Regions from separate parts of the Homo sapiens genome. Here regions 1, 2, 3 and 5 are each linked to region 4. Evidence: promoter capture Hi-C in 16 types of primary human blood cells and fetal thymus (Javierre and others, 2016). All regions are on one chromosome and are shown on one strand. The core of a region is centred on a gene start or on the middle of the fragment in contact, and the rest is flanking DNA. Distances in the headings are between cores, read along the strand shown.

Evidence for each region. The method cuts DNA at HindIII sites, captures the fragments that hold promoters and counts their contacts. A CHiCAGO score of 5 or more calls a contact.
Region 1: a fragment that was not itself captured here is called in contact with the fragment with the promoter of RSPO3 in region 4 in 4 of 17 cell types (M0 macrophages, M2 macrophages, M1 macrophages and 1 more); the score reaches 8.1 in M0 macrophages.
Region 2: a contact is called between a fragment that was not itself captured here and the fragment with the promoter of RSPO3 in region 4, in 1 of 17 cell types (M2 macrophages). The highest score is 6.8, in M2 macrophages.
Region 3: a fragment that was not itself captured here is called in contact with the fragment with the promoter of RSPO3 in region 4 in 1 of 17 cell types (M2 macrophages); the score reaches 5.6 in M2 macrophages.
Region 5: a fragment that was not itself captured here is called in contact with the fragment with the promoter of RSPO3 in region 4 in 3 of 17 cell types (endothelial precursors, monocytes and M2 macrophages); the score reaches 8.0 in endothelial precursors.

Annotation. Positions count from the first base shown.
Region 1 is chr6:126,346,724-126,349,423 of GRCh38, reverse strand. It overlaps CENPW (centromere protein W), which reads right to left. Exons shown (of 3, transcript NM_001012507.4): 3 at 549-958. The coding sequence ends at 932. Among named protein-coding and RNA genes, the nearest start is that of CENPW, 8.0 kb to the right of the region's middle. The HindIII fragment of the contact is 7,567 bases long and covers 1-2,700 here.
Region 2 is chr6:126,157,012-126,159,711 of GRCh38, reverse strand. It overlaps a transcript of TRMT11 not described here. Among named protein-coding and RNA genes, the nearest start is that of TRMT11, 170 kb to the right of the region's middle. The HindIII fragment of the contact is 539 bases long and covers 1,093-1,631 here.
Region 3 is chr6:126,139,171-126,141,870 of GRCh38, reverse strand. It overlaps a transcript of TRMT11 not described here. Among named protein-coding and RNA genes, the nearest start is that of TRMT11, 150 kb to the right of the region's middle. The HindIII fragment of the contact is 6,644 bases long and covers 1-2,700 here.
Region 4 is chr6:127,117,302-127,120,001 of GRCh38, reverse strand. RSPO3 (R-spondin 3) reads right to left here and starts at 1,331. Exons shown (of 5, transcript NM_032784.5): 1 at 713-1,331. The coding sequence starts at 809. LOC105377989 (a long non-coding RNA gene) reads left to right here. Exons shown (of 14, transcript XR_002956387.2): 4 at 1-1,101. The HindIII fragment of the contact is 5,242 bases long and covers 1-2,700 here.
Region 5 is chr6:126,369,398-126,372,097 of GRCh38, reverse strand. It overlaps a transcript of CENPW not described here. Among named protein-coding and RNA genes, the nearest start is that of CENPW, 31 kb to the right of the region's middle. The HindIII fragment of the contact is 4,920 bases long and covers 1-2,700 here.

The DNA.
Region 1 (2,700 bases), core at 9-2,508, 770 kb after region 4:
AAAAGGATAGCACAAAGAGACTTTTTTGGTAATGAAACATTTCTAATTACAGTAATGGTTAAACAAATCTACACCATAAAATGGCAACAGAACTACATGTACACTGTACCTATATGAAATTCCTGGTTTTGATATTATACTATAGTTATGTAAGATGTAACCATTGGGGGAACTGGGTGTACTGTACATGGGACTTCTCTGTACTATCTTTGCAACTACATGTTGAAATCTATAATTATTTCTAAATAAAAAGTTAAAAGTAACAACTATTTGATGATACATAATAAACTTCTAAATTATCTTATTTAGGGGGAAAAATTATCTATTAAATCCATGAGACTTGAAGAAAATAAGTCATTTGCTCCAAATTTCTATTATTTTGGTTTTGGGAGGGAGATAGGTTTTGAAAAACCTACCTGATGTTTATAATTGTCCAGCTGAGAAATTATAACATTACTACTGGCATAATATAAAAGTAGATTGCATTGCTTTGCAAAGACATTAAAAGTTAAAATATTGAAAGTGCACCTAGATTTGACTGCATTTGCCTTTCTTCAGAGATTAAATTCCATAGTTAACTGTGGCTAAATCTAAATATATATAAACTTAATTCTAAGAAGTACATTTTCAAAGTATTTAATATAGTAAGATTTCATTTTTGATACATAAAATATTTGCAGCAGCAACAAAACAAAAGCAAACTGAACTAGAGGACATTTAAAATAAAAATAATAGTAATTCCCATAAAAGGGTTAAATAGTCCTATGCATTTACTTGAGATATTTCATGCCAGAAAAAAAATACAAACACACACATCACTTATAGCCAATATTTAATAATCCCATATTAACTGATGTGTAAAAAATGTCTTTATGATCTGTTACCACCCAAAAGAATGCATCATAACTTTCAAGAATATGTTCTTTGACTTCTAACCTCTGCTCTTCTTTAGAATTACCTGTAAGAGGGAAAAAAATAAGATTCATATTATATCTATGAAAAATAAAACATCATTCCTTAACAAAAAGTTAAATAGTCCTGGGTGCATAATATGCAAGACTGAATTTATAAAACCCAATTTTCCAAATTGGAAATCACCTTCCAGGTGATTAGGGAATCTTTTGTCTTATAGTCTTAGATTTCTCTAAAAACAGTCTTATCTCAATGAATATGAAACATGCCTAGATTCTAAAAACCTGCCTTTATTAGTTACCTCTAGATGTTAATTTCTTCTATTGTAAACCAAAAGTGTCCAGATTAATGGTTTCGAATTTGAAATTTTTAGACAATTTAGTTATCTAAATTAGGAGTTAAACAATACCAATTAAAGAGTTAAACAATATTCTTGAGTCTATATTAGACTCAAAAAGTCTATTATAAATCAGACATTTCACAACTATAAACTAGGACAAATCCACTGCAACATTAAATTTCTTATAGTTGGACTGGAATTATAATCATTTGAGACTAAAACTAGTCATCTTATGCTGAACAACCTGTTAAGTAGATTATTTTCAAAATAATAGTCTGTGGCACAAATAAAAAAAGGAGATTTTTAGTTGTAAAAAGACTGACGGTATTAGTCAGAATATCTCTTTTTTTAAAAAAAAACTTATCTACTATTTTAAGTAAATAAACCTACAGTTTATTAATAAAAATCCTAAATGTAAAAAACACGTGTATATTCTTCAATATCTTAAGCCTTGTTTTTCCCACAGAAAAATATTTACATTGACTTTAATAGTGTAGAAATTTGTTGGAATGTTTATAATTGCAAGATAATTTAAAGGCCCTAGAAAATGCCAAGACATGCACATTTCTAGGCTTCCACAAGACCATCAAATAAATCTGTATCTAGACTAGTACTTCTCTGTCCTACAAGATAATTATCATGGGTACTTCAAAAGAAAGTTTGAATACTCAAATGAATTTACAAAACGCTGAGTATATTATGTACTCAAACTTACAAAATACTAAATGGAGTTCAACAAGTTTCCTTATTGCTATATTTCTCTCATAGCCTTTCATAACTTTACATGACTATAGTTATTTAAGACATTAGGATTATGAGAAACTGGATACAGGGTACATGGGAACTCTAAACTATCTTTTGTACCTTATTTCAAAATAAATCTAAAACAAAAACGTCTACAAAGAGGTAGACTGTCAAAAATAAGTTTCCCTCCTCTATCATCCCCAGTCAACTGTGGTTGCCAGTTTCTTACATATTCTTACAGAAACAAGTTCTACAATAATACTGTGACTAATCAAGGAAGTATAGTATGCAAGGTTATCTACACTTATTTGACAACAGAAGCATCTGAGGTAGGGCCTTGATTAACATCATTTGGAAATAACATTTTCAGGAACATATCTGGAAAACTGCACCGTAGGCAACATATTCTTAACATTATATAAAAATAACAGTAAAAAGCAATCATCTCTACTTATAAGAGATTTTTTTTTCCTTTTTTTGAGACGGAGTTTCGCACTTGTTGCCCAGGCTAGAGTGCAATGGTGCGATCTTGGCACACTGCAACCTCTGCCAAAACAAAGTTAAAAGAAATCAAATAATTGGTGATATGGTTTGGCTTTCTGTCCACACCCAAATCTCACCTCACATTGTAATCCCTCCATGTGGAGGAAGGGAAGTGATTAGATCATGGGGGGCGGTTTTCCCCATGCTGCTCTCCTGATAGT
Region 2 (2,700 bases), core at 113-2,612, 960 kb after region 4:
TTTTGGATTTCTGGCCTCTAGAACTGCAAGACAATAAAATTCCACTGTTTTAAGCCTCTTACTTTGTAATAATACTGTGTTATGGCAGACATAGGAAACTAAAACATGAATGAAATACAATAGAAACTTATTTGTCCGTATTATAATAGTGGAAGATGGCTGTTCCTGGTTGACAAGCAGCTTTCCTCTATGTAGTGATCAGTGGCCAAGTTCTTTCTGTCTTGTGGCTCTGCTATCCTCTAGGGAAGGTACCAGCAAAATATAGCTCAGAGATTCTTTTTGTAAATAAAGTTTTATGGGAACAAAACCATACATATTTGTTTACGCATTGTCTATGGCTAGTTTTGCACAATAACAGCTGAACTGAGTACCATAGTCATGACAGAGACCATATGACACTAAAGCCTAAGGTATTTGCAGACCTCCGCCCAGAGTGCCATCACCATTTGGATCTAGCCAGCACAAAGGGGAAAGAAAGTTTGGAGGGGACAAACCAGCTATCCACAAAGTGGCACATATCACTTGCAAATATCTAGCATTGTCTAGAAATTAGTTACACGGTCACATCACATTGCAAGAGAGGTTGAGAAGTGTATTACAGGTGTCCCAAGAGGAGGAGAAAACAGACATTTAGAAGAAAAATTAGCACACTCTGCCCTTTGGCATCAGTGGGAAATGTCACCCACATCTGCACAGTAGCAGTAGCAACTGCAAGGGGCCACCTAAGTAATGTTTCACAGAGCCCAGAGGCTTTAAAGAAGACATCACCAAAGGAAGTCAGAGCTGGATGGGCAACGAGGGAAGTGACAGAAAGATGCCACGTGGTAGCTGAGAATACCATTTCAAGAGCATCCAAAAGACACCATCTAGAACTTCCCACAGTAACTGGTGAGAGAGAGAGGCCTTTGTAGGAGGGAGAAGTTCCACAAAAGCAGGTGGGAGATAGAGCCACAGAAATTGCTTTTTTCCCTAAAATTTGGCTCGACATTGCCCCAAGCTTGAAGTGGCCTTTGCAACCTGGTTTATACCAAATGCAATAAGTAAAAGGCATTTAGAATGTAAAAAATAAATACAGTACAATTTGGGGAAGCTTGTCTCCTATTTGCCTGACATTTTTTGAATCTTTCATATACCATAAGGATCCAGAGCATGAAAGTAGCACTAAAGAACCTATTATATAATAGATTTAGACACTAAACATCAACAATTGTTGGCCTCATAAAAAGAAATAGACATGAGCTTCCTCCTATAGTCTTCCCAAACACTCCTTCTAGTATTGCCAAAGATATTGAACTTGAATCTGATCCAGTGTCTGGATCCAGCTGCTAATTTGCAGAAAATACAAAAGGACAAAGGAACATACCAAACTATACCATGAGCATGCATTCAGCAAAGTCCAGACCATGGGAAACTTTACAGGTCAAACAGTCCAGGTGTTCGACAGAAAAAGCACAGGGAAAAGATTGAGGTAGAGAGAAGAACCATAGACTGAAGGTTTCAAAAGACTGATCAAATTTTAAATAATGGAAAAGACTAAATTACAATGTGTAGGAGTGGACTTATATAAATGTTCAAACTAAACATACACACACATACAAGGAAGTGATTATCAAAAATAATAGTAATAAGCTTATTACTATTATTCTGTTATATAGCATAATTATTACATATGGCAGAAGGGAGGGGATTATGATTGGAATAGAGGATATAGAGGGGCTTATGAGTGGCTGACAAAGTTCTATTTGATCTAGTGTTGGTTACAAAGGCTTTTGCCTTAAAATTTACTAAGCAATTCATTAACATGTACACAAATTCATGGGAGAGCATTCTGTATCTGCATTTTATTTTACAATTTAAAAATGTAAAGACTAAATTATAAAAGAGAGAAAAAATAGCTGAATAACAGCAAGGTAAAGAAAACTAGAGTAACTCTCTTTTGAACAAACTATACAGTCATTAATAGAAATCCAAATGTAAATTTAATTCCTTTTCATCAGACCCATCTAAAAAATCCCAACAGTCAATTGGTGGCTTACAGATGATGCTGATGTACTGGATGATTAATCTTTTTGTGATATTAAGCCAATGTCATTTCATCACAGGTAAACTTCAAATTGTAACTTTCCTATAGTTCTCCTTATCTTCCCTGCACCCTCTTAATCCAGCGGGGTTCATTGACTCAGGAAAAGAGCAACACACAGCCAAGAGCAGCAGTCATCAATCAGTTTACAGCTTTATAATATGAAATTTTACATCCATAGCAAGGCTATTCCCTGAATGCAAAGGCTTTTGGTTTAGCAGGAGCCAGGCTTTCTTGAGGAGGAAAAGGGTTCTATTGAAATTCTCCAAAGCTAAGTATTTGTATATAAAAGCCAAACTTGAAGGACTCAGATCAATAATTACATGCTTCCCAGAGTAGAAAAGAAAGACAATAATCTATTGTCAATTCTAGAAGATAAGAACTGAAATGAAAAGCCATTTCTATGCTGGCAGAAAGAAGAAGAGGAAGTGTGGACGAGGTATCAGAGGTGGGCAGCCCACTTCCTGCCTCCCTACCCAGAGGTCAAACCTCAGGGACAGAGAGCAGTCTATGGACAGGAGAAGCAGTGATGTAGGTTTGGGGGCATCTGAGGGACCATTGTTGATCCTCTGCTTTCCTGGGCAGAGACTGGCCCTATCAAAAACCTTTCAGAGAAACTC
Region 3 (2,700 bases), core at 145-2,644, 980 kb after region 4:
GAAATAGTGAAGTCTTAATGCAAAACTATGAGAAAGAAAATATTATTTAATTAACTAGACTTGACTTCACTTACGCTTAGAATAAAAAGCATTTATTAATATCTTGCAAAGAAGGTCAAAGATAAAGGCCAGAACTGAGCAAATGTTGCTAAAGAGAAGTTGTTCAGCTGATACTGAATATACACCATATATAATCTCCTTTTCCAAAATAACGGATTTAAGTTGGTTAACTGTGTCCCAAACTTAACAGAATATATAGTTCAGGTTCTTGACCTCATCTCCTGACCATTCTTCTCACATCACCTTCACTGGCCTGCCAGGCTTGGTGGACTTGGAGTAGATAAATTTATCTTTCTGTCAATTTTAATTTTTGCAACAGCAGTACAACCTATATATTCATGCTTGAATGATATATTCAAATTTGCTACTTTCCTACAATTACAGTAAGACAACAAAATCATTCTCACTGATTTAACATGTGTGTGAAAACACAAATACTTTTGACTATTTAACTTATTTGACTGATTACATTGATTAAAGCTGTAACTAGCTACATGCAATCACTTAATTATTTGTTCATTTTATTTTTAGTTAAGCTGACAGGTCTACTTGTTTGATAACCAAAATTAGACAAAATAGTCCATTTATGCTTTATCCTGCTAATTAATTAAGATGATTAGAAATAGTCCAAGCCCCAGATTCAATTATAATTACTTACACATAGAGGAAAACTCTCTTATTCAAATTCACAGTTTGCTAAGTACGTTTTCTCTAAAGCAAAGGGCATATATTAATACAAACTTATCCCTATAACTTAACACACACAAATGTTGTATGAAGACCAGTAGAGTCATTATGTACTTTAATATAACTACCCTCATGAGATAGCTATTTGTTATTTTCTATTTCACTGGTGAGGAAACATGGAGTTTAAGAAAATTCGAAGCATTTTTTAATTCTATGATTCCTGAATTCTGGAATCGAAGGTGTCATTATGAAAATACATTGTCACTTGATTTTTTTAAAAGCAAAATTTCCCATAATTATTTGATTGCAAAATAACTAACTTCACTGAGAGACCACAAAAACTAAAGCAGCATATAGTACAAATACTCTGTAGGTTGTTTTGTTGGTGGAAAGCTAAAATTAACTTGTCAAGTAGAACAATTTCTCTGCCCCTGGCAAGTGAGAAAGCAATAATGAATCTTCCATTTTAAGGTGGAAATTTTAGCATACCTATATGAACACTTAGCTAAAATGGTCAAATTTCTAGAAAAATCATCAAAATCAGCTCAAAGAATTTTTAAAACACGCACATCAGTAACCACTGAATACATTAAGCTAACAGAAAAGACTATACTTGAAATGGCACCCAACTCAAGATTTTGCTTGTGAATTTTATCACATCCTTAAAAAACACATAATTCTTGTGTTATATAAACTTTTCAAAGTAAAGACAAAGATAAGAAATTATCTGATCCATTTTACCAAGCAAATATAGCACTAATACCAAAACAAGAGAAAGCACAAGAAAGGAAATCATGGACAAATAACTTTTATAAATGAAGATATATACACCTTGAATTACATATTAGCAAATCAGATACAGGGATTTTTTTTTAATTACACATCAGGACCAAATAGGGCTTATCCCAGGAATACAAGGATGGTTCAATACTAGAGAACCTACCAATTCTCCATATTAAAAGACAAAAGACAAAAAATAAGTAATGTAAAGGTATTGACTAAAATTTAATACCTCATTTTTAATCTTCTGAAATTAGAAATAGAAGAAAACCCTTTTAATAAATGTCACTAGTGGAAATATGTAATAAGTACCATACTTAATGGATAAAATATTAGAAGTAATTTCTTAAAGTAAGGAATAATGCAAAATACTATCATTATCTATCCAGCACTTCTGCACCATCCTTGTCTATCCAAGACAATAACAAATCAGATATAAGAATCAGAATAAAAACAGACAAAATTATCATTATTTGCAAATGATATAATAATTACCAAAAAAACCTCTAAGAAATTAACTTGTGAATTGTTAGAGTTCACATTAGAAAGTTTAGCAAGGTAGCCAAATAGAAGTTACAAAATAACCACATACATTAAAATACTATTTACATTTTAAAACACACACATCAAAAAAAACTATATAGATAGTATGTGGCCATAAATATTTGTTACATAGGCTGGGCATGATGGCTCACACCTGTAATCCCAGCACTTTGGGAGAGTGAGGTGGGTGGATCATTTGAGGTCAAGAGTTCAAGACCAGATTGGCCAACATGGTGAAACCCCATCTCTACTAAAAATACAAAAATTAGCCAGGTGTGGTAGCAGGCGCCTGTAATCCCAGCTACTTGGGAGGCTGAGGCAGGAGAATTGCTTGAACCCAGGAGGCAGAGATTGCAGTGAGCCAAGATCACACCACTGCACTCCCACCTGGGCAATAGAGCAAGACTCAGTCTTGAAAAAATATTTATATATATTTGTTACATAAATAAAAATAAAATCTTCTGAAAAGATATACATCAAATTAAATGCTGTTGCTACTTCTCAAAAAAGGATCAAGATTCATGGTAATGATCAAAGGAGATTGTAGCCATACCTATAATATTTTTATTTTATAGTCTGGATATATGTATTAGTTTTACTATTTAAATTTAATAAAATTTAAAATATGCA
Region 4 (2,700 bases), core at 82-2,581:
CATGTGACAAGAGAGAACCTGGAAACTCCGCACCTCCGGCTCCCCACAGCTGGGGTTTTGCTGTCTTCAACCCTCGGGCGGGGGACGTCCGGCAGCTCTGCAAACGCGCAGACACGCGAACCCCATCGCCTCGCGCGCCCTTTGGCTCCGCTGGTGCGTGTCGGGGATGCGGCCGCGCAGGCGCTCGCTCCCTGGCTTCCTGGCCGGGTAGCGGGCGTTCGGCTACCGGAGTCCAGCCTAAGGGCCCAGCCGAGGTCTCCCCGCGCGAGGCGGTTGCGCTAGGTGAGCGGGTACCGCGGCCGCGCCTCCCTTGTCATTTACTCAGCGGTCAGAGGCATCCTGCGTCTGGGAGTCCCAAGTGCCTTCGGCTGGGTGCCCCTGTCCGATCCTCAAAAGGAAAGCACAAATCCCGGGTGCGAGTCTAACCCAGGACCGAACTTTCCCGCGAACCTGAAGTTACCATGGGGCGGGAGCCACCTTAGCGCCGCGTCCGCCCGCCCCTCGCACCGGCTAGGATGCTGCGGAAGGCAGGGGCGCCGAGAGGCAAGGGTGAAAGACGCCGTCCATACCCCCAAAGCCCGAACCTGCATCTCCTCTGCGAGGCGCAGGGCGGGAGGACCGCTGCAGTTGGGAGCCGGCTCCGGACAGGCAAAGCGACCCGACAGGTGAACGCGGCGGGAGGGAGCAAACGCGTAAAAAACCCTGCACTTACTTCTTCGCTGGCGCCTTCCCCGGGAGGCGTTTTGGCTGCCGATGTATTCCATAAAGTTCAAAATGATAAAAAGCCAAGAAATCAGTCGCAAGTGCATAGTAACCCAGTAATGCTTCCCTTCCTTTCTCCTCTTTCTTTTGATTGTTAATTATATTTAATGTTTTTAAAATATATGTAGGTGTTAGGCGTATATAGACAGTGCCCGAGCAGCGGGACTTCTCCTCTCACATCCGATAGGCGTGCTGTGATGGCAAGCGAAGTGGGGCGGGTGGACAGGGAAACCAACTATTGTACTTTCAAATTATCCAAGCACTGAACTGCGGCGGCTTCGCTGGGGTGGCTGGCATCGCCGCGAACCGGGGTTCCAGGAGCCGCCGGGGCGGCCGCAGGTAGCATGTTGTGCGGCAACTGCCGCAGGCGGGATCCGGGCGGGCGAGCGGCGGCGGCGGCGGCTGCAGCGGCGGCCCCTTGGGCTCAGAAGCTGCGGCGGCTGCGGCTGCAGCGGCGGGGGCCCCTGGAGCGCAGGGGAGCGGGCGCCGTCGGCACAGCGGCCATGGCCAAGGGGCGGCGGAGAGACCCCGAGCTGCTTCTGGCGTGCGCGAGCAGGAGACGCTCCAGTGTTGGGCTGGGCTCCCGGGAGCACCACATAGGGGAGGAGGAGGAGGAGGGCAGGGAGGGGGGAGGGAGAGGAGGGCAGGGAGGGGGAGAGGAGGGGGGATGGCTGTGGGGGGCGGGGGGGAGCTCGGGGGCGGGGAAGGAAACTGCTGGAGCAACAACCCTGAGCGACCTCAATAACTTTCAATTTCAAGAGGGAAAGAGGGAGCTGGAAAAGTACAGGCGTTGCGCTTTGGCAGAGGGACGGGAAGAGGCGCCTAAGGGGTCCCGGGTCTACAGCGCAGCATCTCTGGACACTGCAGTGACGGCCGGAGAATTCCAGCCAGAAGAATGGGGAAAGCAGTGCGTGCGAAGAGCCCCTCCAGAAGGGCAGCTCTGGCGGGGAGACTTGGGCGCACTGGGGCTGGCAGGCAGTGTTGAGGCCGAAGACCCCCCACCCATCCCAGTTCGGCTCCTCTCCGCGGCCTCAAGCTAGGCGCACCCGGCTGTCGGTGGCCGTGCGCCCCTGCGCCCTTGTGCCCCAGCGCCCCCACCCCATCCCCAGCGCCGGCGCGCAACTACCCTCTCCCCCTTGGCAGATCGCTGGAGAGTTTCTGGCTGCTGACTTGTTCCCGGCTTTCCTGACCTTCTCCTCTGTTGCCTTTCTCCCTTTTTCTTTTTCTCTCTCTTTCTTTCTTTCTTTCTTTCTTTCTTTCTTTCTTTCTTTCTTTCTTTCTTTCTTTCTTTCTTTCTTTCTTTCTCTTTCTTTCTTTTCTTTCTTTCTTCCTTCCTCTTTCTTTGTCTTTCTTTCTTTCTTTCCTTCCTTCCTTCCTTCCTTCCTTCCTTCCTTCCTTCCTTCTTCTTTCTTTCTTTCTTTCCTTTCTTTCTTTCTTTTCGGCTGCAGTTGGTCGCCAGGCGGGTGGTGGGGAGGAAACTCTGTGGGTGCTGCCGGTCAGCTACTCTGAGGTTTACCTGCTCCGAGCGGGGAGGACCCAGAAGTGTGTGCGCTCAGGACCTTCCCGTTGGAAATGCAGCTGTGCTACGGCTTTCTTCCAAACCAAGGCTTTTCTGTGGCTTTGGAAGATTCCTTTCCCGCTCAGGCAATTCCCTCTATAGTCAGCTCGCCCCCCTTGGAGTTTTCTCTCCCACCCTCGGTCTCCCAGTGTTCTTGAGAGGATCTGTTGTACATTCTAATCTCGCATCTGGAAGACTGGGAATAAGATTTGGAAAGATTTTCCCAGTCTTGGGGAAGGAAGGGGAAGGTCCACTACTTTCTTATCTTCCCAGCCCAAGTGGAGGCCCAAGGCAGCAGAGAGTAAGATGCTCTGGCCCACCCAGGGATGGGAGAACAGAGGGCCGGCACCCCTGAGTGGGGCACACCCTGGCTGTCGTTA
Region 5 (2,700 bases), core at 138-2,637, 750 kb after region 4:
CACAACAGAACTAAATGAAATTGAAACAAAATAACAATATAAAAGATAAATGAAACAAAAAGCTGGTTCCTCGCAAAGATAAATAAAATGATAGACCACTGTGAGATTAACCAAGAAAAGAAGAGAGACAATCCAAATAAGCTCAATTAGAAATGAAATAAGATTTATTACAACCGATACCACAGGAAAAAGAAAAAAGAAAAAGATTGTTCAAGGCTACTATGAACATCTTTACGCACATAACTAGAAAACCTAGAGGAGATAAGAAATTCTTGGAAATATACAACGCTTGTAGATTAAACCAGGAAGAAATAGAAACGCTGAACGGACCAATAACAGGTAGTGAGATTAAAATACAAATTTTAAAAATACCAACAAAAAAAGCCCAGGACCAGATGGATTCACAGCTGAATTCTATCAGACATTCAAAGAAGAATTGGTACCAATTCTATTGACATTATGCTACAAGATAAAGAGGGAATCCTCCCTAAATCATTCTATGAAGCCAGTATCACCCTAATATCAAAACCAGGAAAGGACATAACAAAGAAAACTATAGACTAATATCCTTGATGAATACAGATATAAAAATCCTTAACAAAATATTAGCTAATCGAATCCAACAGCATATTAAAAAGGTAATCCACCATGATCAACTGGGTTTCATATCAGGGATGCAGGGACAGTTTAGCATATGCAATTCAATAAATGTGATGCAACACATAAACAGAATTAAAAACAAAAACCATATTATTATATCAATAGACGCAGAAAAAAAATTTGACAAAATCCAGCATCCCTTTATGATTAAAACCCTCAGTAAAATCACCATAGAAGGGACCTACCTTAAGATCATAAAAGCTATCTATGACAAACCCACAGCCAGCATAATACTGAACAGGAAAAAGTTGAAGCATGTCCCCTGAGAAGTGGAACAAGACAAGGACACCCATTCTTGCCACTTCTTTTCAATATAGTACTGGAAGTCCTAGCTAGAGCAATCAGACAAGAGGAAGAAATAAACTGCATCCTGCCAGGCACGGTGGCTCACGCCTATAATCCCAGCACTTTGGGAGGCAGGGCGGGTGGATTACCTGAGGTCAGGAGTTCGAGACCAGCCTGGCCAACATGGTGAAACCCCAGCTCTACTAAAAAAACACACACACACACACAAAAAATTAGCCAGGCGTGGTGGTGGGCACCTGTAATCCCAGTTACTCAAGAGGCTGAGGCAGGAGAATCACTTGAACCTGGGAGGCGGAGGTTGTAGTGAGCCGAGATCACGCCACTGCACTCCAGCCTGGGTGACAGAGCAAGACTCCATCTCAAGAAAAAAAAAAAAAGAAATAAACTGCATCCAAATCAGTTAAGAGCAAGTGAAACTGTCGTTTGCTGATGATATGATCGTATACCTAGAAAACTCTAAAGACTCTCCCAAAAAGCTCCTAGAACTGCTCAATGAAATCAGAGAAGTTTCAGGATACACAATTAATGTACACAAATCAGTAGCTCTGCTACACACCAACATGACAAAGCTGAGAATAAAATAAAAAACTCAACCCCTTTTACAAAAGCTGCAAAAGTAAAAAATAAAATACTTAGGAATATACCTAACCAAGAAGGTGAAAGACCTCTACAAGGAAAACTACAAAATGCTGATGAAAGAAATCACAAATGACACACATGGAAACACATTCCATGCTCATGGATGGGTAGAATCAACACTGTGAAAATGACAAATTCATTGAATCTACAAATTCAATACAATTCTCATCAAAATAGCACCATCATTCTTCACAGAACTAGAAAAAAAAATACTAAAATTCATATGAAACCAAAAAAATCCCACGCAGCCAAAGCAAAACTAAGCAAAAAGAACAAATCTGAAGGCATCACATTACCTAACTTCAAACTATACTATAAGGCCATTGTTGCCAACATATCATGGTACTGGTATAAATAGGCACATAGACCAATGGAACAGAATAGAGAACCCAGAAATAAAGCCAAATACTTACAACCAACTGATCTTTGACACAGCAAACAAAAACATAAAGTGGGGAAAGGACACCCTATTCAACAAATGATGCTGGAATAATTGGCAAGCCACAGGTAGAATGAAACTGGATCCTCATCTCTCACGTTATACAAAAATCAACTCAAGATGGATCACAGATTTAAATCAAAGACCAGAAACCATAAAAATTCTAGAAGATAACATTGGAAAAACCCTTCTTGACATTGGCTTAGGCAAATACTTCATGACAAAGAACCCAAAAGCAAATGCAAATGCAACAAAGATAAATAGATAGGACTTTAACTAAAAAACTTCTGCACAGCAAAAGAAACAATGAGCAGAGTAAACAGACAACACACAAAGTGGGAGAAAATCTTTGCAATCTATAACTCTGACAAAGAACTAATATCCAGAATCTACAAAGAACTCAAAAACATCAGCAAGAAAAAAACCAAACAATCCCAACAAAAAGTGGGCTAAGGACATGAATAGATAGTTCTCAAAAGATATACAAATGGCCAACAAACATATGAAACAATGCTCAACATCACTAATGATCAGGGAAATGCAAATCAAAACCACAATGTGATTCCACCTTACTCCTGTAAGAATGGCCATAATCAACAACTTTAAAAAAATGTATGTTGGCAAGGATGTTGTGAAAAGGGGACACTTTTCCACAG